Linked DNA regions of Homo sapiens: all the other regions are linked to region 5. Evidence: promoter capture Hi-C in human tissues and cell types (Jung and others, 2019). All regions are on one chromosome and are shown on one strand. Each heading gives the region's core, a stretch centred on a gene start or on the middle of the fragment in contact. The rest is flanking DNA. Distances are from core to core; before and after follow the strand shown. Region 1 has its middle 26 kb from the start of COL6A1. Region 2 overlaps ADARB1 (adenosine deaminase RNA specific B1). Region 3 overlaps ADARB1 (adenosine deaminase RNA specific B1). Region 4 overlaps ADARB1 (adenosine deaminase RNA specific B1). Region 5 holds the start of SLC19A1 (solute carrier family 19 member 1). Region 6 holds the start of COL6A1 (collagen type VI alpha 1 chain). Region 7 overlaps PCBP3 (poly(rC) binding protein 3).

Region 1 (3,360 bases), core at 83-2,582, 410 kb before region 5:
AGCCTCTCAAAGTGCTGGGATTACAGGAGTGAGCCACCGCCCAGCTGAAACCTCCATTTAAAGGGCATCTCTGTCTTTGCATTGGGAAAAGAAGGGGAACGAAGTCACTAGAAACTCTTACACTGGAGGCAGTGTTGGCTTGACTCTCCATAGCAAGCCTTACCTTTGTTTAGGTGTTTTTCTGTCCACCTTATCTTAACTGGGCCTTTTGGTTTTTCAAGGATGAAGTACTTTATTACTCACAGCAATATCAGTAGCCAGAATGTTGGCATTTTTTTCTAACAGAGTATCAGCATACTTTTCACACCAGTTTCCGAGCCCCGTTTCCCAAACAGTGACACAGAGTGGGCCCAGTGGCATCTGCACACACCGTGGACTGCACTGCAGGAGAGGAACCCTGAGCTCAGGGAACGTGAATCTTTTATAATGGACAGTAAGCATGCCTGCTCTTTGCTTTGGAGGGAGAAAACGTCTTTACCTTCAGGATTAGGGTGTAAGCAACCTGCCCTTTGATCTGGAAGGACATATTATCAAGGCTGTCACAAAACAACACCCTTGGAAAGATGGTCTAGAACAATCAGTGCCTCTGTCCATGAGATGAGCAGGAATGTCAGAGACAGAGAGTTGGGTCCCAGCCTCATCCAGTCCTCATTGCAAATCGTCTTGGCCACTGACACGTTTTCTTGTGAGTGTGCCACTTGATATGGTTTGGAGGTTTTGTCTCCTCCAAATCTCATGTGAAAATGTGTTTCACAGTGTTGCAGGTGGGCCCCGGGGGGAGGTATTGGATCACGGGGTGGATGTCTCATGAATAGCCTAGAGCCATCTTCTTGGCAATGAGCACGTTCTCACTCAGTTCCCATGAGAGCTGGTTGTTTAAAGGAGCCTGGCTCCTCTGCCCACTCTGTCCCTTGCTCCTGTTCTTGCCATGGGATGTGCCTGCTTCCATGGCCACTTTCTGCAATGACTATCACTTCCCAAGGCTTCCCCAGAAGCAGACACTGGGGCCATGCTTGTGTAGCCTACAAAACCGTGAGCCAAATAAACCTCTTTTCTTTATAAATTACCCAACCCCAGGTATTTCTTTATAGCAGTGCAAACAGCCTAACACACCTGTCCATCAGCCACTCTCATTACTCCCACTGACAGAGGCGATCTTTCCTTCATGGACCTTCTTGCTGTTTGTTTTACTGTTTTGCACCAAGCACACATGGGTGTGTTTGTGACATCATCCCTCTGCCCCTGACCTCCCCATTTAAGCGTTTGTAATTAAATTGCACCCACCTGGATAAGCCAGAGTTACCTCTTTATTTTCATGTCAACTGAGTAGAAACCTTAATTAATTGGCAACATTAATACCCCCTTGCTATGGAATATGATGTATTCATGGGTTCTGGGGTTTAGGATTTGCACATCTTTTGGGGGCCATGATTCTGCCTTCTACATAGATCACATCAGACAAAAAGCATCAAAGCTGTTCAAGACTTGACAACGCAGTCACCAGCTATTAGATCCACATAGAGCGGGTGGCAGGCAGAGAATACACTTCTACTCAAGCAGACGTGGAAGACTTACAAAAAGAGACCATTGGATTAGGTCATAAAAGATGCCTCAGTAAACCCCAAAGGATCCGTGTCATGGAGATTATGAATTCGTACCATGATGCAAAACATTTGGAAATGAATATTCAAAGGATACCTGAGAGAATCTCATGTGTTTGGATATTTAATAACATTTTACTAGTAACCTTTGGGTAAGTAGAACTCTTGAGGGAATGAAAAACCTCTTTAGAATTGAATAATAATGATAATACCGTATGTCAAAAGTCACAGGACACAGTTAAGAGTACCTAGAAATATACAGTCATAAATACATTTTCAATAGGACGGGCGTGGGGGCTCACACTTGTAATCCCAGGTGACTACAGGAGGCCGAGGTGGAGGATCGCTTGAGCCTAGGAATTGCAGACCAACCCGGGCAACAAAGCAAGACCCTGCTTCTACAATAAATGAAAAAATAAATTAGCTGGGTGTGGTGGTGCACGCTTGTAGAGAGTAAAAGTTTTCCTCTTCAAATTTCCCCTTCTTGTTAAAGAATACATCATAAGTGTTAGAAATAATAGTTTCTTTTAAAGACTTTCTTCAATTCTCCTTGCTTTGTGCTAATAACTCTTTGTTAAGCCCTATCCCATGTAATTGTTGGACATGCTCACAGACACGTTCCAGCTCACAGCCTATGCCCCTTCCTTATTTGGAAATGTTATTGCTTCCTTAGACCTTTCCTAATTACCTATTTAGGAAAGTTTCAGGTTATTAGCAAATCAGGTATCAGTTTAAGACTGTGAGGCCCAGCTCCAGCCAATGGATGCAGGACACAACAGTAAGGACGACCCAAATGCTTAAGGGTTAATTATGTCTGCCTTTCCTTTGCTTAGGTGACCTCTCGCGATCATTCCATCTGTGACTGAGCACCCTTTCTGCAGAAAGTAAAGATGGCCTTGCTGAGAGATCTTTTGTGTCTGTGCTGACTTTTCTTCGCGGCACCGATTATCTATTTCGAACAATTTTGGTATTTCTAACAGCACTTGTAGTCCCAGCTACTTAAGAGGCTGAGGTGGGAGGGTTGCTTGAGTCTAGGAGTTTGAGGCTTCAGTGAGCTATGACAGCACCACTGCACTCCAGCCTGGGGAACAGAGCAAGACCTTCTTTCAAAAAAAAAAAAAAAAGAAAAAAGAAAAGAAATAGAACTAATCATACAAATGAAATAATTGGAAAAAACAGCAATGTAACAAAATGATCCCAAAGTAATAAGAAAAAGGGAAATGACAAAGATACTGGCAGAAATCAATGAAATAGAGAAAAATAAAATAATATGAGTAGCAAAAACCAAGGATCATACTTTGAAAAGATATATTGATTTTGACAATATTGAGCAAAAAAAGAGGAAAATATAAATAAAAATAGAGACTGAAAATACAGAAATAACTGCAGACAGAGGGATCAAAGAAATCACAAGAACGTTATGAGCAGCTGCATTCAGAAAGTTTGAATTCCCAGATCGTTTCAAGAAAAAACAAAATGCCAGAGCTGACCCCGGAAGAGGCCAGCGCGCGCCTGCCCCAGGCTTCCCAGGTAGACTCTGCCAAACTCAAGGAACTGCTCAAGCTTAACTTAGACAAACTGGCTCAAGCCAGAACTTAGAGAAGGGGCAAAAGGCTGGTATAAGCCAATTCCAAAACCAGCTAAAGATAATCCGAGCTTTTGCCTGCTCAGCTGCTGGGTGCTGTTCCCAGACCAAACCGAGGGTGGGGCTGCTTGTTCTCTCGGCCCAGTAACGAGACGCAGATGAACTGGGAGAGGA
Region 2 (3,334 bases), core at 687-3,186, 420 kb after region 5:
TAAGGCCATCATGAACAGAACCAAAGAAGGCAAAAGGGAGACATCTGGCCTTCGCAGGCTTCCTTAGAGTGTTTTCCACACCTGTGAGGATCCTGAGCGAGTGCCAGGAGGAGACGGAAGAAGTGCAGCTTCACACTCCTCTCCAGAGCAGGCATTCAATCGACAGTTCACGAATGGGCTTCAGGAAGACAATGAGAAGTGTGAAATCATATATGAAATGATGCGTTCATATGCACAGATGAATTTTTCTAACGAAAATGTAAATGGATTTAATCAGATATTCAAAAGAACCCAATACCCCACAAGTGTGCCAACATCTGACATGCAAACTTGTCCGTGCGGTAGAGGCCAAAGACAGCCCTCACCATGGGCTGTGAGATGACCCAAAACCCAATCCTTTCTTTGGCACTTCACCAACAAAATTTCATAGCCTTTCTTTTCTCAGTGCAACTAAGGGCTAGTCCATGGTAACCTACGAAGTGAATTATTACGGGGCACTAAAATTTAAGATTTATAACCTAAACCTGAGGTGTTACTAGGCTTTATAGAGGTCTAGTTCAGTATCAAGAAGGGAGGCTCCTGTGCAGAGCTGCAAAGCTTGGTAATGCGCCCACGTGGGGGCCACAAAGTCCTCATCCTCAGAAACAGCATTTCGTGCGTTACCAATGACAGCTTTATTTATAATGGATTTCAATTACCAACACTCTTGCTTTTATCATTTCGATGTCCATTTTCTCATGTTCACAGCAGTTTAATGTGGGCTGTCTGGGTATATACCACGATGACAATTCATAGTTTCAGGAGCCATGATTTTTCAACAACTTATAAGTACCCTAAGTCATCTCCGTCTTTATTTCGAAACAGATGTATAGAACCTCCTCTAAATTCTGATGCAGCAGTAACATTTTATTTGTTGGTGATGTGCTGATTAAGAGTATATGAAATTTAACTAACTTGCAACACACCATCAAGGCAAGTGTAACAAAGTTACCCAGCTATTTTTAAGTTTATGGCCACACTCTTACATAGTAAAGAACAACACGTCTCATAAGAACTTCTGTATCAAAAGTACCTAAACTGGTTCATTTAATTTCATCCCGATTCTTTGATAATGTTGAGTGATATTTCCACTGGAGAGCAAGAACAGCTACTGGTAAAGGTGACCAAGGCACTAATTTTGCCACTGAGAGTGATCTAAAAAGGCTTTTAGGCTAGGCACAGTGGTGTGCTCAGCACTTTGGGAGGCCAAGGTGGGAGGATGGCTTGAGCCTAGGAGTTCGAGACCAGTCTGGGCAACACGGCAAGACCCCACCTCTACAAAAAATTTAAAAATTAATCAGTCAATGTGGCACGTGACTGTGGTCCAAGCTACTCAAGAGGCTGATAACAGGAGTATTGCTTGAGCCCAGAAGGTGGAGGCTGCAGTGAGCCACGATCACACTACTGCACTTCACCCTGGGTGACAGAGCGAGACCCTGCCTCTAAATTAATTAATTAAAAGGGCTTTTAATTAAAAATGGTGATAAAGTACACCATATCTTCTCTCCATTCTTCCCAGAGCTCTGTTAAAATGTCAGAAAAGGTACTTTTTGGTGGTGAATGAACCATAATAGTGCACGGTGCTAAAAATTTACAGAGGGATTTAGCAGAACACAAGAAAGCCTGCCAGGGCTTTTAGGGCATAAGGCAGACGAAAGCAGGTTGATGCGAGAGAGCAGAGGAAACTGCAGAGCAAGACAACAGAGGTGAGGGGTCTTCCCAAGAAGCAGGAGCCATAGGGAACGCTTTTATTCCTGGGCTGAAACCTGAGAATCGCTCTCCAAAGAAAGCCTGAGGTTTTCTAAGGGGTGATCCCAATATGGGCACGCGGGCTGGAAGAGAAGCAGATCCGGGTTTAGGGTAACGAAAAATCAAACCGTCAGGACATGAAGCCCAGGGAGGGAGAGAAGGAGAGAGTAGAAGATGTTTACCTGCAGTAGAACAAGGATCAAACGGATATCCAACTTCTCATTACCAACACTAGACTCTGGAAAATAATAGAGAATATTTTCTGATTTCAAAAGGAAAATTATACGATCCTAGAATTCTAGACCCTACCAAATTATCAATAAGTATGAGAACAAAGTAATTGCATGTTTGAACATTACGTGCAAAAACCCAAGAAGTCTGTCAGCCATCCATTCTATAAGGAAGTGAATTAAGAAGTCTGTCAGCCATCCATTCTATAAGGAAGTGAATTAAGAAGTCTGTCAGCCATCCATTCTATAAGGAAGTGGATTAAGGAGGTGCTCCAGCAAAACAAAAATAGAATCCAAGAAACCAACACCATGGGATAGGAGAAACCATGGCAACTGAGGCAGCTAGAAACAGCGGACACCTAAAGAGAAACTGGGAGTTCCATCTGAATATTCTCCTTTTATTGGCAAAGGTTTGGTGAGGCAGAATTACATTTCATACCACTTGGTTCTATGGCAAAATATACTATCATAATACTATAAATGTTACTTTTCTTATATTAAAATGTTTAGACTACACTTGCAGGAAAAGCACAGGGAGCCTAATGATAGATGGGAAACACTACAAATGTTTTAAGCCTTGTCAATATAAATCTCATCAAAACTCAGAGTGTGAAGGCACTGTTGACTTCCACATGAACTCACAAACAGAAAAGTTAAAGCTATAATGGTGACTACAAGAAGAACTTAAGAGAAGAAAACACAAACTGTACATTGTTTACCTCTGGAAACGGGGCATGGGGTGGGGAGGGAGAAAGAGGAAATCTCCAACTTAATTTATACCCATTCATGAGCTGCAATGTGTTTTTTACCATGTGCTGGTATTACTTCCATTTTTTAAAATAGTTACATTAAAAGGGCCCCCTTATCAATAGCTGATCCATTAAATAACTGCAGTACATCTATAGGACAGAATAATATGTTCTTGTAACAAGTGAAGTAGCATGAGCATTGCGTTAGTTATATAAAGTCAGAATTTTAAAGAAGCTTTTTTTTTTTTAACTGTGAAAGAACAAAGATAAAGTGTCACAGTCCTACGAAGAGAACGGCACTACCTGTACTGACATGCAGGATGTGACGGGACAGCTGCGTTATAGAGAGATGTGCACAGAAAACCCCTGTGTATCTCAGAAATCCCATATACATAACAGAAACTCCTCATCTATTATATATGCCAGAATCCAGTGCTGACACAAACTAGTGGGTACGTACCCTTCCATATTTTTCCTATGTACACACACACAACATTTTGTAAGCCTAAAAAGCTGGCACAAAAAGCAAACCAACTTCACAAGGACAAGCCAGAGAGTCCTTGGGGG
Region 3 (3,166 bases), core at 88-2,587, 400 kb after region 5:
AAGGTGGCCCACAGGTAGCTCAGGTGGTACTATGCTAGCAGCAGAGGACAACTCAAACCTAGGGGGACTATCACCCTTGAAGGACAGCTCCATCCCCATTTACAGACTCTGGGAAACTTTTTAAATTCTTATGAGCTCTGAATATAAATTTGATACTAAACTGGAACATACATTGACAGGTATTTCTTTAAAGATTCTTAGGCATTATTTAAAAATAATGCTTTCTATAACTGGCTACTAAAAATAAAACAGAATGGCAATCCTTTGAAATATATTCTGTAAAACCACTACTACATATTTAGATCATGAGAGTATAGGCTAATTTTTTGCATTTTAACATAATTATTACCTATTTGGAATATTAAGCTTAAAACAATAGAATCATAAAATTATGTTACACAAAGACTACACAGCAAAGTCACAACTTTTTTTTTTGAGACAGGGTCTCGCTCTGTCGCCCAGGCTGGAGTGCATTGGCACAATCTTGGCTCATTGCCACCCGTCTCCTGGGATCAAGCAATTCTCCCACCTCAGCCTCTCGAGTAGCTGGGACTACAGGCATGTGCCACCATGCCTGGCTAATTTATTTTTACTTTTATTTTTTGTACAGACAGGGGTTCACCATGTTACCCAGACTGGTCTCAAACTCCTGGGCTTAAGCAATCCTCCTGTCTCAGCCTCCCAAAGTTCTAGGATTATAGGCTTGAGCACCACACCTGGCCACAATTTTTAGAATTGCAAAAGATGTACAAAACTTCTCATTCCATAACACAATCAGCCCCTTCCGCAGACTTAATTTATTATATCAAATTTATAAATTACTTGATAAAATTTTATTTACAATTCAGATCACTCACTGAATTAAACCAGCTATAAGTATTCCATCTCATTGCTTCACAGGTCCTCTAAATGGTAAAAATGAAGCCAGGGAACAGAAAGCTTTCTGAAGGAAACTGGCTTCTGGACGCACACTGGAATGCACACACACATACACTCACGCACACACACACAGATGGTGTAAAGACAAGAGGTTTGTCCTGGTGGCCACCGCTCAGAACGCCACTGAGCCTCCTCCACTGAGTCTTAGAAGCGGCCCTACAGCACCATCTGCTGTTCTGCAGAGGTCACTCAACGCTCCACACCACAGCAACCAAGCCAGGAGCCACCCAGAAGCTACAAGGCATGGGCTGCCAGGGGCGGACCTGTACCTCACAGCCTGGTCTAGGTGCTCTGCTGAATACAAACCATCTGATGGGACATCAACATCAGACAAGGTCGCCCTGGGCCCTGATGGGTAGGACATCTGCACGGGGTAAGAGGAAACTTTTTGGGGTAAGAATATTCTCTACCTCAGCTGCTTGGTGGTGTGGCACTGGCATACATTTGTCAGAATATATTAGAGTGCACACTTTAGAAGAATGATTTTTGGCTGGGTTGAGGTGGGTGGATCACCCGAGGTCAGGAGTTTGAGACTAGCCTGGCCAACATGGCAACACCCCATCTCTACTAAAAATACAAAATTAGCCGGGCATGGTGGCGGGCGCCTGTAATCCCAGCTACTAGGGAGGCTGAGGCAGGAGAATCGCTTGAGCCTGGAAGGCAGAGGTTGCAGTGAGTAGAGATCATGCCATTGCACTCCAGCCTGGGTGACAAGAGCGAAACTCTGTGTCAAAAAAAAAAAAAAAAAAAAAAAAAAAGAGTTTTATTGTCTGTACATTTTACCTCAGTAAATCCAATTTTAAAAAAATCAAGAGATCCCAGAAGAAAACAAATTCTATAAGAAAGGTAAGTCTCAATTTGAAATAAAATAGAAAATACACATATTTCAAGAAGAATGAATTAAATGGGTTCCAAGAAACAGAATGAATAAGCTGGAAAAGGCTGGCGATAGCATAAGAAAGGCAGTGGTCCCTCTCAACAAGAGAACACGGAGAGGCAGAAGTGCTGATGCTCAGGGCCCACGGGCGCACGCGGCCCCACACTACCACTCACCACGCTCGCTGCGCCCGACAGGCACCTTCCCTGCCCCACGTGACAGAGGAGGAAGCTGAGCATGGGAGTTGAGACACTTGCTCGACCGCTGGATCCAAACTCAACTCCATTCCCCACTCTGCTCTACCACTCCATGCCAGGCAAGAATATGGGAAAAAGAGAAAACGGAGCCAAAAAATCAAGGAAACCAGGAGAAAGAGAAAACGGAACCAAAAAAATCAAGGAAATCAGGAAAAAGAGAAAACAGAACCAAAAAATCAAGTATACCAAATCCAAGTATAAAGCAAATTAAACTGTGGCATGACTTTCAGCAATCGTCATAATAATATAAGTGCCATTTATGAATTTGGAACTTTGATTGAACCAAGGTTACAGAACAGAAGAAGTTTTCTACTTTGGTAACACAGAAGACAAACAAGGCTGGGAGCAGTGACTCACGCCTGTAATCCCAGCACAGTGGGAGGCTGAGATGGGTGGATCACCTGAGCCCAGGAGTTCAAGACCAGCCTGGGCAACACAGCAAAACCCCGTCTCTACAAAAACTACAAAAATTAGCCAGGCATGGTGGCATGCGCCTGTAGTCTCAGCTACTCAGGAGGCTGTGGCAGGTGAATCGCTTGAACCCGAGAGGCGGAGCTTGCAGTGAGCCAAGATTGTGCCACTGCACTCCAGCCTAGGCAACAGAGCGAGACTCTGTCTTAAAAAAAAAAAAAAAAGAAGACAACAAACTGACAGAGGTCAGACAAACTGACACCACCGAGGAGCTGAGGGCCAGATAAGTGCTTCTGCTGCCTTCCATGCAGGAAACTGAGAGGCCGCCCAGGGCCCACAGGCCACGAGCACATGGGCCACTCAGTCTCTAGGATGACCAGCAGGGGGCGTGGTTTCAGGCTTGGTAAGCTGATCCAGTGCTCGTCCTGAAGCCCTTTCCCCTACCCCTCTACCAAGGGTGCCACAAAAATGAAAGGCTCATTTTCTGTCTCTTTTGTGACTAAAGCTGGCCACAAAACACACTTCTTGCCAAGGAGAAAGACACAGTTCTGGTGAAAGACAGGTGAAAATATGCTGAGGGCTTCCACAATGTCTCTGACAAAAGGAATAGACAAGAGCTCCACGGCCTGCTCCTTCTCAGTTGTTCCTGCCTTAAACACAGAAGTGGTGTCTAAAGCTGCTG
Region 4 (3,181 bases), core at 569-3,068, 440 kb after region 5:
TCCACCTCCTGGAAGACACAGCAGATACAGCAGATGCAGAGATGATCTGGAATTGTGCTGGAAAAGGAGCTTTGTCTTTTCTCCTCATTTATCAGTCATTTATTTATGTCAGTCTGGACTCATGGATATTTATTTATCTCTGGGCTATAATCCAATACTACTTTGTTTTGTTGTAGAAACTGTTCCAGCTTTGGCCACTGGGAGCTCTTTCAGTTGGCTCCTGGGTCCCTTTGACACCACCCATTGATGTGGGTGTGGTTATGTTTGTTTCTCGGCATTTCCTTGCCATTTCCTTGGCATTCCTGGCACTTGTGTTATTTCCTGCCCAGTCCTAGAATCAGCTATTTCTCCAATAAAGAATGCTCACTCTATTTTTTATATGCTGTTTTATGGAACATGCAGCTACATGTTTAAAAAATATAGTTGTGGTTACAGCTGGTTTTGCTGACTTGAATCCATCCCCTTCTTTCTGACAACAGCACCCCAAATGTGCTGAGGAAAGTGCCTTCTCCCATTGAACTGCCTGCGTAATTACTTCCAAGAAATCAAAAATTATTTTAAACCCTTGTGCTGATAACAGACAGACACCAAGGTAAGGAAGATAATTATAGAAATTCTGATTTAGAATTAAAATAAGCACATTGGCCAGGCATGGTGGCTCACATCTGTAATCCCAGCAACTTGGGAGGCCGAAGAGGGAGGATCGCTTGACGCCAGGAGTTCAAGTCTAGCCTGGGCAACACAGCAAGACTCCGTCTCTACAAAAAATAAAAAAAGTTAGCTGGGTGTGGTAGTGCGCCTGTAGCCCCACAGTCCCAGCTACTCAGGAGGCTGAGGTGGGAGGATCACTTGAGCCTGGAAGTTGAGGCTGCAGTGAACCATGATTACCACTGCACTCCAGCCTGAGTAACAGAGTGAGACCCTGTCCCAAATAAATAAATAAGCACAAAATATGTTCACTTTAAAATAAACCATGTCTGGCAAAAGTATGTCCACCACTGTAACTACTGACCCCTTACACAATTTTAAGCAGCACTCATCTCCCACGTAATAGTCAGCAAGACTGGTGTGCTAACATACCCAGCATTCAAAAACTCCAAAAGCTTGTGTATTAAGTATACACTATCCAGAAAATTTCACATGCTTTCTGCTTCAGGAAAGAAATATTAAAGCTCTACGATGGTGAAGTTCATTACAATTTCCAAAAGCAAAAGGATCACTGATTACTTAAGAAGCAACGCTTCCTTTAAACTCCAGTACAGGAGGTAAATGTTAAACGCTAGCAAATCTTTTGAGAAGCATTAAAAAAGGTTTTCGTTACATCACAGGTATACTTAATCATAACGTCAAAGCCTCTAAAACAAAAACTCTGTGCACGCACTTCAGGAGTTTTTCCCACGTGCCGCGAAAGAAGGGAGCCTAGGTGTCTGGAGAGATCCTCTGCACCCAGCACTCGGCGACTGGCAGCGGGCATTTCAGCACCTGCTAAAGCCCGCTGGGCAGCTTGGCAGCGCCAGGCGCGGGGCTGCGGGGACACGGCCCGCCCGCGCGCAGGGCACAGCGAGCACGTGAGCGCAGAGCCAGCTCCGGAGCGCTACGGCGCGCGTGGCGGCACACCTGCTCCCCGAGGCTGATCGTTAACAGCCGTGGGCAGGGGTTGGGCCAGGGTACAGCTGTCAGGACCTCACTGGACAGGACCGGAGAGGACCCCGCGTAACCGCGGAACAGACACTCCCGGCAGCGGCCGCCGCCGCGGCACTGCTACGGGACGAGCCGGAGCGCTTGGCCATGGCGGCCCGATCCGCACTGGCGCTGCTGCTGCTGCTGCCAGTCCTGCTCCTGCCGGTGCAGAGCCGCTCAGAGCCCGAGACCACCGCGCCCACCCCTACCCCAATCCCGGGTGGCAACTCGTCAGTGAGCAGGCCCCTGCCCAGCATCGAGCTCCACGCCTGCGGCCCATACCCCAAACCAGGCCTGCTCATCCTGCTGGCCCCGCTGGCCCTGTGGCCCATTCTCCTGTAGGGACGCCCAGCCAGCCACCTCTAAGTCGCCGCTGGGACTGGCCTGCCCCATTGAGCAACAGAGACGCTTGACAGCCGCCCGCCTCCATTCCTTGACTTCACCCAGAAATGGGTCCAGAAAACTGAATCCCACCAGCACTGGTTTGGAGCAACCGGACACCGAGGTTTCACCTCCAGGGATTCCATGAAGAGCCTCAATGGAGATGCCACATCCTACTGAGTTAAAGATGGGCTGAGGAACTTGGGTACCCACAAGTCTGCCTTGGGAATCAAAAGAAAATATTTACCTTTAGTTTGGTTCATTAAATGCATGAAGTCAAAATATGACCAGGTAGTGTGCGAGGCCTCCTTGTTCTGGGTAGAGCTGGGAAGGGCAGGGATGGCAAGCGCTCCCTAAGTCTGCCACCTGTAGCCTTGCAGAGTTCTCTAGGAAATGCACTGCTGCTCTGGTGTTCAGTGCAATGCAGTATTTGACTTGGGAACAGTGACTGACGGGGGCCAGTGCAAGCCTAGTTAGTAAGCCCAGCCTGTCTACTCCACTCTCACCCACACATCCCCATTCTTCCAAAGAACCTTGTAGCTATCATTTCAACCTAGTTCCAAAGAGCAGACATACATAATCTCACATAACCTGCAATGCTGCTTTTTAAATTTCTGTATATGTTGAATAATTTTTACAAGTTAAAAGTGACCTTTTTAAACATATATTTTTAAATCTTTAACACGGGGGGAGAAAAAGGAAAGTTTTGGAAAGGGAAGACTAGAAGCTTGGCTGGTTCAGTTCACACAAGTTTTACACTATTTCTATCCATGTGTTATCTTTATAAATCCACATTTGGAATACTTCCCATATAAATATCTTTAGATAGAAACTGAGACTAAGCCTTGAGTAGCTTCTGGAAAGTAACCCCAACACCACCACCAAGTTGCACACACACCAATGTCCAGCATCTAGGAGGGCTTCAGGGCCCCCACAGCCCAAGACGTGCCAGCCCAAGAGAGCACTCCCAGAAACTCCAGATCCAGCCAGCCTCAGAACAGCATGTGAACACTTCACACGGGCTTACTGTGCATGTTTTGGATTGAGCCTTGTGTTCAGTAATTATGCTTGGATTTACATAACTTAAAATGACATATTTTAACATAAATTGTAAATTTTT
Region 5 (3,111 bases), core at 212-2,711:
AAGGGCCCCTCCTCCTCCGCGTTGCCCCTCCTGTCTTCCAGCAGGGCCAGGTTCTGCCCACCCGTGGAGAAGGCCAGTACAGGGGAGAGAGCCAGGGCTCCCACAAAGCAGGGGGTCCCTCCAGGTGAGGCGCTCCATCCTGTAGTGTTCCCTTAAATTCTGCAAGCTACCCCAGATCCCCCATTTCCAGCCAACAAATCCTTTTTAAGTTCCTTTGAGATTTGTTCGTGTGGCTTGCTACACTCAGGACTCTGGAAAGAAGGCCCAGGCCAGAGCTTTGGGCAGGCGGCCATTTAGGGCAAGGGCCCTGTGTTGGCTTCCTGGTGGGGTTGCCCTGCTGGTGGGCGGGAGACCAAGAGCACCCCCGCAACACCAGGAGGCAGGTCGCGGATTGTGCTGTCTACACTCCGGAAGGGGTACATTCCAGGGGCTGCTGCCCCAGACTCACCCCTCGCCTGGGACCCGCACTCTTGAGCTGTGGGTACCACGGTGGCCGTCCCCTTCTGTTCTGTGCAGTGGACTTCCTGGCTCCTCCTTAGCCTTGGGGCCCCCACAGCCCTCGGCTTGGCTTCCCTCCCCATAGCCAGGCCCTGGGTAACTCCAGGGGAAAGTGACCCTGAGGCCCCCCACTTCTCCCCGTGTCCTGCACAGGCCTTGGGCTTTCGGCGGTGCTGTCTGCCGCAGCCCCACGCCTTCCTGGGAGAGTGGCCCAGGCCCCCCTTCCTGAGTGTGACTGCGCTGCCGTCTGCGAGGCCTGCGCGGGTCTCCCCCGGGCTGTCCCTGCTGGGATGGGGACTGGTGGCCCCGGGCCACGTCCTGGATCCGGCTTGCTCCTTGGTACAAGCCCGTACGGGTCACGGTCAGGCAGGAGGGCGGGCGGCGGGGTCCCGGGGGCGCCGAGTTCGGGGCCGTGCGGTCCCCAAGAGCAGGCTGTGCGTGTCCCTGTTGGAGCCCCACGAAGGCGGCCCAGGGCCACCCCTGAGGGCGCGTGGGCCCGACCCGCGTCCCGGATCCAGCTTGCGGCCAGGAATGCAGGTGTTCCAGGGTGCCAAAAGGAAAACGCACAAGGCCTCGTCGAGGAGGGGGGGTCAGGAGGGGACCGGGGGTGGGAAGAACGCGGGGGAGAGGGATGGCAGGGTGCCCGCCCGAGGGACCGACACCTCCGCGAGTGGCACCCCAGGATGCTGACGCCGGCGGGGGTGGGGGCCCGAGGGGCGGTCGGGGTCAGGGGGCGGCCCCAGGGGTAGGGCCGCAGCACGAGGGGCCGCGTGACCCCGGCGGTGACCGGGTGGGGAGAGGCCGGCGCCGGGGCTGGGAGACGGCCGTGGGTGGGAGGGTGCCCCGTGGGGACGCTCCTGCCGCAGCGCCCGGCCACGCGCGAGGCCCCGCCCTCAGGACGCGTTCGGCGGGACGGACCCGCCCACCCCGCAGCCGCGCGCCCGCCGCGCCGCCTTGTGGGCGCTGTAGTCCCGGAGTCCGCGTGCGCGGGGCCGGGTCCGGGAGCCCCAGGGCAGCCGCCCCGCCGAGTCGCAGGTACCGGTGGGGAACGGGGCCACGGGGCCGCGTGTCGGGGGCTGCGGGGTGTCTCGGGGCCCTGGGGTGAGTGCGGGGCGCGGGCCGAGGTTTGCAGGGCCCTGTGAGGTGAGTGTGGGGGCTGGCGCTGGGGTCCGCGGGGCCCTGGGGAGGGTGCGGGGCGTGGGCCGGGGTCTGCGGTCTGCAGCCTGGGGTCCGCGGGGCCCTGGGGAGGGTGCGGGGCGTGGGCCGGGGTCTGCGGTCTGCAGCCTGGGGTCTGGGGGGCCCTGGGGAGGGTGCGGGGCGTGGCCGGGGTCTGCGGTCTGCAGCCTGGGGTCTGGGGGGCCCTGGGGAGGGTGCGGGGCGTGGGCCGGGGTCTCCGCGGGGGTCGCGGTGGCCCGGGCGCCTGGCAGAACCGTTGCTGTGCAGCGGGTTTCCCGCCGCTCGCTTTCCGCCGCAGCCTGCGAATGGGGTGGGGAGTCCCGGCCCCCAGCCTGCCCTCCGCGTCATCCTGGGGCGCCAAGTCCCACCCCCGGGTCTGGAGGAAAGCGTGGATCCGGCGTTCGCGCCCAGGCACGTGTTGCTTCGGGACGGGCCAGCCGGTGGGTGAACCCTGCCAGCCACGCGTGGGGCGGGCCCCTGGCACATCTCCAGACCATTGTCTCCTGTGCCAGAAGCTTTGTAGGTGCAACTTCCCCTTGGAGCAGCTGTGGGTGCGGATCCAGCGGAGCAATCCCGAGGCGTCTCAGAGAGAGCCTGGACAGCCGCTGGAGCCTTTCCCGAGTGGGTCCTTCCAACACCGCTACAGCAGGAAAGCCATCCCCCTAGGGTCCTGTCCATCGGAAACTCCTGTCCTGGGGAGTCTGGCCTGCCTGGCCTCAGGACACAGGCCAACTAAGCTGGCCCCGAAATCCAGAATGCATCCAGAGGGAAGGTGGGATAAAGTCCTTGGAGGCGCCTGTTGGCCGCCCTGTAAAGAGGTGGCCTCCCCCTACGGAGACCCGAGGATCCCCGCACAGCCCAGATTCAATCAGCAGAGCCGAGGTGCCTCTGGCCCAGTGCACCTGCCTGCCCTGTCCAGGCCTGGGAGCCAGGCTGCATCTCACTGGCCGCCTTTGCCTGGGTGCCACCTGTGCACTGCTTGTTGCAATTGCTAATTGCTTTCTTTCCGAAGGGGCTTTGGTGGATTTTTATAATTCCAGATAGTACAGTTATCTCTGCTGGACACAGATGAGAAAGAGTGCTTCTCGGGTGTTTGGGCCTGCAGCAGTGATAGCCGGAGGGTCTAATTATGCTGTTAGGAACCCTGAACTTGGTCATCTGAACAGGGGTGGGAGGGTGTGCAATGCTTTCTTCTTCTTCTTTTTAAACTAGCAGGCGTTCTAAAAAACATAACGAACATTCTTGGTTAGCCTTCCAGAGTAGGAGCTGGTTTAAACACGGAATGATAGGTGGCGTTTGCTTGTGTTTTGATTGCGGGTCTCTGGCCTTCTCTGGTGCTTGGAAGGACAGGGCCTGGGTGGGGCTGGTCACTGTGGACAGTGGGGCCGGGGATTTGCAGGGGCTGTTACAACCTTCTCCTGAAGGCAGGGATTCTCT
Region 6 (3,325 bases), core at 8-2,507, 440 kb before region 5:
GAACAGGTGCCACCCCCGCGAGCAGGGTCTCAAACCAGCTCACTCTGGAAGGCGCTGGGAGAGGCTCAGACCAGCTCACTCTGGAGGGCGCCGGAAAGGGCCCCGGCCTCACTCTGGAGGGCGCCGGGAGGGGCCCCGGTCAGGGCAACGCTCGCCCAACCTTAGGAGGTTGAGGCCGTCGCACCCGTGTTCCCCTGGGCCCCCACCCCTCCCTCCAAGAGGCCCAGAAGCACAGGAGGAAGGTCACGGGGCGTCCCTCCTACCTGTCCCTCAGGTTGTCGATGAAGCGCTTGGTGAAGGACTTGACTTTGTCCACGAGGGCCCCGTAGGGCTTCAGCCTCAGGGCCACGCTCTCAGAGGTGTCCAGCACAAAGAACAGGTCCACGGGGCAGTCTGGCCGAAGATGGAGGAGAGGGGCCTTCAAGCTCTCGCCCCATTCCCCGAGTCTCTGCTGGGCCTGCCCTCCCGGCCAGCCCAGCGCCTGCAGCACAGAGCCCCGGGCCCGGAGAGGCTCTCCCGGGAAAAGGCAGCAGGACGTCCCTCGGTGGGGACGGTGGGGAGGGGGTGGAGTGAGAGACCCCAAACCGCTCCTGTGCCTCGAGGGGAGTCAGAAACCTTCACAACCTCCCCCGAAGGGCAGGGCGTCCCCGGCACGGGACCGGACAAGTGAGACCTCACGGGAAGGTTTCTCGCTGGATTCAGAACCAGCAGCGCACGACTTCTTCTAGAACGGGGGTCGGGGGGGCCGTGCGTCTGGACTCACTGCCAGGTGAGGGGTCAAACGGATTCACGGGGCGCCGAGACAGCCCCGCACCAGCTCCCCCTCGCCAGGGAGCCCCTCCCGAGCTGCCTGCGGTCCGGCCCCGCTGAGAATGCTGAATGCTGAGCCTCTAGGGGCCCCGGCCAAGGCCCGGTGGGGCAGAGCTGGGCGCTGCAGCCGCCCCGAGCGGGGAGTGGGGTTCAGGGGCTCCAGGCCCCCAGTCTGCAGTTCCACGCGTGGGAGGGGACCCCGCGCATCTGGCCCTGGCCGGCAGCAAAGAGCGGGGGGTCTGGAGCCTGCACCCCAAGCCACCACTCACCCTGGAAGGCCACGGCCCTCGGGGTCTCCGGCTCATCCTGCGCGGCTGTCCAGCAGGCCTGCAGCAGCAGGGGCAGCAGAGCACGGGCCGCCCTCATGTCTGGGGCCTGCGGTCACCACACAGCGCGGCCAGGGCAGAGTGGGCCGCCGCCGCCGCCCAGAGACCGAGGCTGCCTTCTGCTCCCAGCCAGAGTGAGAGCGGAGGGCAAGGAGGGGAGGGGCGGGGCGAGAGGGGCGGGAGGGGAGGGGAGGGGCGGGAGGGGAGGGGAGGGGCGGGGCGGGAGGAGAGGGGAGGGGAGGGGAGGGGCGGGAGGAGAGGGGAGGGGCGGGAGGGGAGGGGCGGGGCGGGAGGGGAGGGGCGGGGCGGGGCGGGGAGGAGCGGCCCATGAGTCACCACCTCCTTGCTGGGGTCTCTCCCTCCAGAACCGGCAGCAGCTCCGAGCCCAGGGAGAAGGCGGTTTCCCTGGCTGGCTCGCCGCGGCCTGCAGTTCAGTTCCCGTGTCAGGGAGGAGGAAACTGCAGCAGCTGAATCAAACGTCTGAAAACCAGCGTGTCACCCAGGGAGAGTTCCTTGAAACATCTTTCGGTAGTTTCCAATCCAGACGTCTCCATGCGGGACGCACGGGCAGGCTCACTCGCCTCTTCCCACCAACCGCCTCCTGCAGAGGACCTCGCCGTGAGCTGAATTGTTGCTTTATCAGATCTCCGCGTTCTTTTTTCACGTCAATATTTCTTCACAGTATAGTCGGATACGTATTTGCCAAAGATATTTCAGTTTGTACCGTGGGAAGACAAAGTTGCTCACAATATAGTTGTTATATATGCTGTGTGTGGAGACAGAGAGACAGAGACAGAGAGACAGAGAGAGACAGTGAGAGAGAGACAGAGAGACAGAGACAGAGAGACAGACAGAGACACAGACAGAGGAGAGACAGAGACAGAGAGAGAGACAGAGACAGAGAGAGACAGAGAGACAGAAAGACAGAGAGAGACACAGAGAGACAGAGGAGAGACAGAGACAGAGAGACAGAGACAGAGAGACACAGAGAGACAGAGAGACAGAGAGACAGAGACAGAGAGAGAGACAGTGAGAGACAGAGACAGAGAGACACAGAGACAGAGAGACAGAGAGAGACAGAGACAGTGAGAGAGAGACAGAAAGACAGAGACAGAGAGACAGACACAGAGAGACAGAGGAGAGACAGAGACAGACAGAGAGAGACAGAGACAGAGAGAGACAGAGAGACAGACAGAGAGAGACAGAGAGAGAGACAGAGACAGAGACACAGAGAGAGGAGAGACAGAGAGAGACAAAGACAGAGACAGAGAGACAGAGACAGAGAGAGACAGAGAGGAGAGACAGACAGAGACGGAGAGACAGAGACAGAGAGACAGAGACAGAGAGACAGAAAGAGAGACAGAGAGAGGAGAGAGGGGCTGTCCCTGATATCACCTGGGGGTGGGCTCCAGATGTGGCCAGATGCATCCCTGGCCCACAGAAGGTCCCAGAAGAGCTTTCCCAAAGCTGGAGCTGCTGAGACTTGCCTAACACCAGCCTAAATGTCTTATAATTTTAAAACGTACACAAATTGTTCATACCAAAAACCATGTTAAAGAAACATTTGAAAAAACCTTTAAAATTGATACTTAATTCCACAACTCCACAGTGACTGTTTTTGGATTGCCTTCAATATTTTCCCCACACCTACGTTACAGAAGTTGTAAAGTACTTCTCCTTCTTTTCCTCCTCCTCCTCCTCCTCCTCCTCCTTATTATTATTATTATTATCTAAGGGGCTCACTCTGTCATCCAGGCTGGAACGTAGTGGCCTCATCACAGCTCACTGCAGCCTCAGTCTCCTGGGTTCAGGTGATCCCTCCACCTCAGCCTCCCGAGTAGCTGGGATCACAGGCATGTGCCACCATACCCAGCTAATTTTGTATGTTTTGTAGAGATGGGGGTCTCACGATGTTGCCCAGGCTGGTCTCGAACTCCTGGACTCAAGTGGTCCTCCTGCCTCGGCCTCCGAAAGTGCTGGGATTACAGGCATGAGCCACCGTGCCTGGCCTTGTACACTTACTGTACAGTCAATTTACCTGCCACTGATGTCATCCACACTGTGGCTGTGGGTGCTGAGGTTTGGTGCTGCCTGCTTGGAGCTGTGGCACCAGCCTCTGGGCTCCTGACTCAAGCACAGGGGGCTTCAGGACCTCCGTGTTCTCTTGGCCTCTCCCAGTCTGAGCTGTT
Region 7 (2,964 bases), core at 421-2,920, 370 kb before region 5:
TGGGAGTTTGGGAACACGGATGTCAGTGGAAACAAGACCCTGGTTCTCACCATGCTGTTTCCAACGTGAGACGTAAAATCACCTAGAAAGCGCCTGCGCGCCGGCTATCTAAGCTTCCTAAAAACACCCAGTTCTGGGAACTGGATTTAGGCAGAGCCAGATCTTCCTGCCCGGGTCAGGGAGGGAGAACATGATTCCGTGGGGCCGTCTCTGTGGGGGAATGCCGCTCTGAAGGCCCCCTGCGTCCGCCTGGTGCTGGGTGTAGGTGGAAGAGCTCTGCCTCCAGCACGGGTGGGAGACGTGCACGTGAGAAGGCGAGAAAACCTGAGTGCACTAACGGGCAGCGGCGGGTGCTGCAGTAAAAGGCTGAGGTTGGCAGTGGAGGCCGCGAGCGGATCGGCTCTTACCTGACCACCTGCAAAAATGACAGGGGTGGAGGCGGGCTTTGGGCGGTAGGGAATGGTGGCACCTTTCGGTGGGGACTAGGAAAAGGGACAGGAGAGGGAGAGAGAGCGTTAGAGCAGCTTCGCAGCCTGGCAATGGGGAGGCGTGCCCCGGCCCACCCCACTCAGCCCCCTGCACCAGCTCCACGCTCCCCACACCTCCCCGAGTTTCGCAGCAGTGCTGGGGGAGGGGAGTGAAGACCTCCAGCCCCCACACCCTCTGTGTGGCTGTCTTATGGCCTGTCCCTCCAGAGGGCTCCTTTTTGCTGAGCCCTGGGCTGCAGTTTGCCACACACCGGCCTCCTGAGAGTACCGCCTGCCCCGAACATCCCTGGGAGGCTCTGTGGCAGTGCGGAGAGTCAGTCCCATTGTGGGAGGCCAGCTGGGGTGGGTCCCTTGCCCACAAGACCCTGCTGGACAAGGGCTGGCCGCCAACCCAGACGGCCCCCTGCGGTGCTGGCCCCTCCACCGGGGCCCCTCCTGGGATGCGCAGGGCCCTGCAGGCCTGGCTGCACGGCTTCACAGGGAGCTGCCCCTTGGAGCAATTCTCTTGAATGTTCTGGAGAAAGTTGAGCCCTGTAGGACTCCACCGGGACCTATATCCAAAGCGCTTGGCTTGGCCCGTGGTGACAGTCAGCAGAGATCTCCACAGGAGACTTGGAAACATCTCACTTCACTATGTGAAAAAGCATGTTTAAAGTGCTTATAGACTCCAGAGGAAAAAATCCCATAGTTACGATGAGGTTTGCCTTAATTTCCCTTGGGTATTCTGTCGGAAACACAGGATTAACATTCTCCAGCGCCAGCATTTTTAGCCTGCCCTCCTTCTCCTGGGTGAGTCCCCTGTCTAACTGTCCCCAGGGCCCAGGTCAAGGAGGCAGAAGTCCTGGGCCTGGGGGGCACCACAGCTGGGGTTGGTCCAGCAGGAAGAGGTGGGGGCTGGAGCCCATGAGCCGTTCCTGGCAGGGGGCAGCCTGTCCTGCTGGGAGTTCTGGGGCCTTGGCTGACTCAGGGCCAGCCCAGCACTCAGGGAGCGCCACTCACACTCAAAGCCCCAAGATGGGGAGTGGGTGGCTGGATCCGCAGCGCCAGGGCCCTGGGGTGTGACCTCAAGTACTGTGGGGAAGGGGATGTGGGGCGGGTCTGGGCTGACTTGAGCTGGGCCTGGGGTGGGAGGAACTGACTGAGGTAGACGGGAGCCGCTGCTGCCCTCCCCGGCTCCTGGAGATGCCCAGCCTCGGGCCAGTGCCCCTGTGCTATGGGCCCTCGACCCCCACCCAGGCACAGGAGCTCCCAGCTGACCCTGACCTGTGATTCCCACTTCTTCTCTGGGCACAGGGCCTGCTGGCCTCCCCTGGGACTGCATGAGCCTCCCTGCACTGGGTACAGGGTGCTGGGCCCTGGGTGGGCAGGGCACCATCTGTGGCGATGTCTGTATTCTCAGCAGGCCCCACCCAGACTCATGGCACCCTGGGCAGCCCTTTCCTCCGTCATCTCCTGGGTGTGAGGTGAGGCATGCCCACTACCAAGCCCAGAAGTCCTCCAATCAACCAGGAGGGTCTTTAAGGCATCCTTGGCTTTATTTTTCCAGTCACTCTTCATCTGAGGGCGGACCCAGCTGTTTCCAGGTGTGATGAATCTTCCTCCCTGGGATGATGGCCCCTGGGACTTGGGATGCAGCACAGCCAGCGGGAGTGAGAGCAGCTGCCTGGCCATCTTCACTGGCCATGTCTGCTACGAGCTCCCTGTCTTGCTCAAACCTCCCTGCCCAGGAAGGAGATAGGGTGGTTCGGATGATGGCTCTGGGGGCATGGGCAGCCTTGGGGCAGCGGGTGCACCTGCATCTGTGGAGCTGCACCTGGCACTGCACCGGGACGCAGGCAGCAGAGGCACTGGGTGACGCTGACGAGACCCACGTGTTGTTGAGGAGCTGGACCTCGGCCCTCCATTAGGGATGTCCCTCCTAGAACTGTTCGTGTCACTGGCTGCTCCTGAGCCTCGGCCCGCAGGGCCTCCAGGGCCTGAGACTGGAGAGTTGAACAGATAGCTCAGACCAGCATGGCACTTTCGCCCTAACCAGGGAGTGGGGAAGATTTCAGAACAAGAATATTTTGAAAAATATTTTTCACTTCACAAAGTATCAAACTTCAGGGAAACAACAACTACGCAAACATTTTTTAAAGAGTCAAACATGGGGTTTGAACCCCAAGCCAAGTACGAGAGAGGAGTGAGCCTGGGCTGCAGGAGGGGCTGGAGGCTGACCCTGCAGAGCTGCTAGAACTTTCCATCTGGGGCGAGGCTTCTTCATTTTTGCTTCAGGAAAGACTGGCAACTGTTGATAGCTTCATGAATTTTGAGTATACTTCTGAGTTTTTTCCTCCCCCCGAAACTTCAAGAGAGGCGTCTGCTCTGAGCGGGTTCTTCTCTGCTTTTCCGTTTTAATGCTTTTGTTCACCCATCTCTACTTCTGCATGAGTTTTGTATGTTTTCCCGAGTTTTGACCTCTGTTCCTCCACGGTGG

The links. Contacts are between HindIII fragments. The study calls those that stand out against the background at their distance.
Region 1: a fragment that was not itself captured here is called in contact with the fragment with the promoter of SLC19A1 in region 5 in 5 of the 25 tissues and cell types used here (H1 embryonic stem cells, IMR-90 fibroblasts, dorsolateral prefrontal cortex and 2 more).
Region 2: a fragment that was not itself captured here is called in contact with the fragment with the promoter of SLC19A1 in region 5 in 1 of the 25 tissues and cell types used here (lymphoblastoid cells).
Region 3: a fragment that was not itself captured here is called in contact with the fragment with the promoter of SLC19A1 in region 5 in 3 of the 25 tissues and cell types used here (H1 embryonic stem cells, aorta and lymphoblastoid cells).
Region 4: a fragment that was not itself captured here is called in contact with the fragment with the promoter of SLC19A1 in region 5 in 1 of the 25 tissues and cell types used here (dorsolateral prefrontal cortex).
Region 6: the fragment with the promoter of COL6A1 here is called in contact with the fragment with the promoter of SLC19A1 in region 5 in 2 of the 25 tissues and cell types used here (IMR-90 fibroblasts and mesenchymal stem cells).
Region 7: a fragment that was not itself captured here is called in contact with the fragment with the promoter of SLC19A1 in region 5 in 2 of the 25 tissues and cell types used here (dorsolateral prefrontal cortex and lymphoblastoid cells).

What each region holds. Positions count from the first base shown.
Region 1 is chr21:45,954,404-45,957,763 of GRCh38, reverse strand. No RefSeq gene overlaps it. Among named protein-coding and RNA genes, the nearest start is that of COL6A1, 26 kb to the left of the region's middle. The HindIII fragment of the contact is 8,613 bases long and covers 1-3,360 here.
Region 2 is chr21:45,117,256-45,120,589 of GRCh38, reverse strand. All of the region lies in intron 1 of ADARB1 (adenosine deaminase RNA specific B1), which reads right to left. Among named protein-coding and RNA genes, the nearest start is that of ADARB1, 44 kb to the right of the region's middle. The HindIII fragment of the contact is 3,865 bases long and covers 4-3,334 here.
Region 3 is chr21:45,138,465-45,141,630 of GRCh38, reverse strand. All of the region lies in intron 2 of ADARB1 (adenosine deaminase RNA specific B1), which reads right to left. Among named protein-coding and RNA genes, the nearest start is that of ADARB1, 65 kb to the right of the region's middle. RefSeq lists an enhancer at 2,663-2,957. The HindIII fragment of the contact is 3,019 bases long and covers 1-2,846 here.
Region 4 is chr21:45,099,654-45,102,834 of GRCh38, reverse strand. The region is part of intron 1 of ADARB1 (adenosine deaminase RNA specific B1); the gene reads right to left. Among named protein-coding and RNA genes, the nearest start is that of ADARB1, 27 kb to the right of the region's middle. The HindIII fragment of the contact is 4,715 bases long and covers 1-3,181 here.
Region 5 is chr21:45,540,790-45,543,900 of GRCh38, reverse strand. It overlaps SLC19A1 (solute carrier family 19 member 1), which reads left to right and starts at 1,461. Exons shown (of 6, transcript NM_194255.4): 1 at 1,461-1,533. RefSeq lists silencers at 1,188-1,267, 1,308-1,617, 1,968-2,027 and an enhancer at 821-1,333. The HindIII fragment of the contact is 13,138 bases long and covers 1-3,111 here.
Region 6 is chr21:45,979,702-45,983,026 of GRCh38, reverse strand. It overlaps COL6A1 (collagen type VI alpha 1 chain), which reads right to left and starts at 1,257. Exons shown (of 35, transcript NM_001848.3): 1 at 1,080-1,257; 2 at 264-393. The coding sequence starts at 1,176. It overlaps LOC105372841 (a long non-coding RNA gene), which reads right to left. Exons shown (of 3, transcript XR_937803.3): 2 at 3,175-3,325; 3 at 1,461-1,737. RefSeq lists enhancers at 1-636, 637-1,499. The HindIII fragment of the contact is 42,283 bases long and covers 1-3,325 here.
Region 7 is chr21:45,911,469-45,914,432 of GRCh38, reverse strand. PCBP3 (poly(rC) binding protein 3) reads right to left here. Exons shown (of 18, transcript NM_001384156.1): 12 at 408-482. Among named protein-coding and RNA genes, the nearest start is that of COL6A1, 69 kb to the left of the region's middle. The HindIII fragment of the contact is 6,282 bases long and covers 1-2,964 here.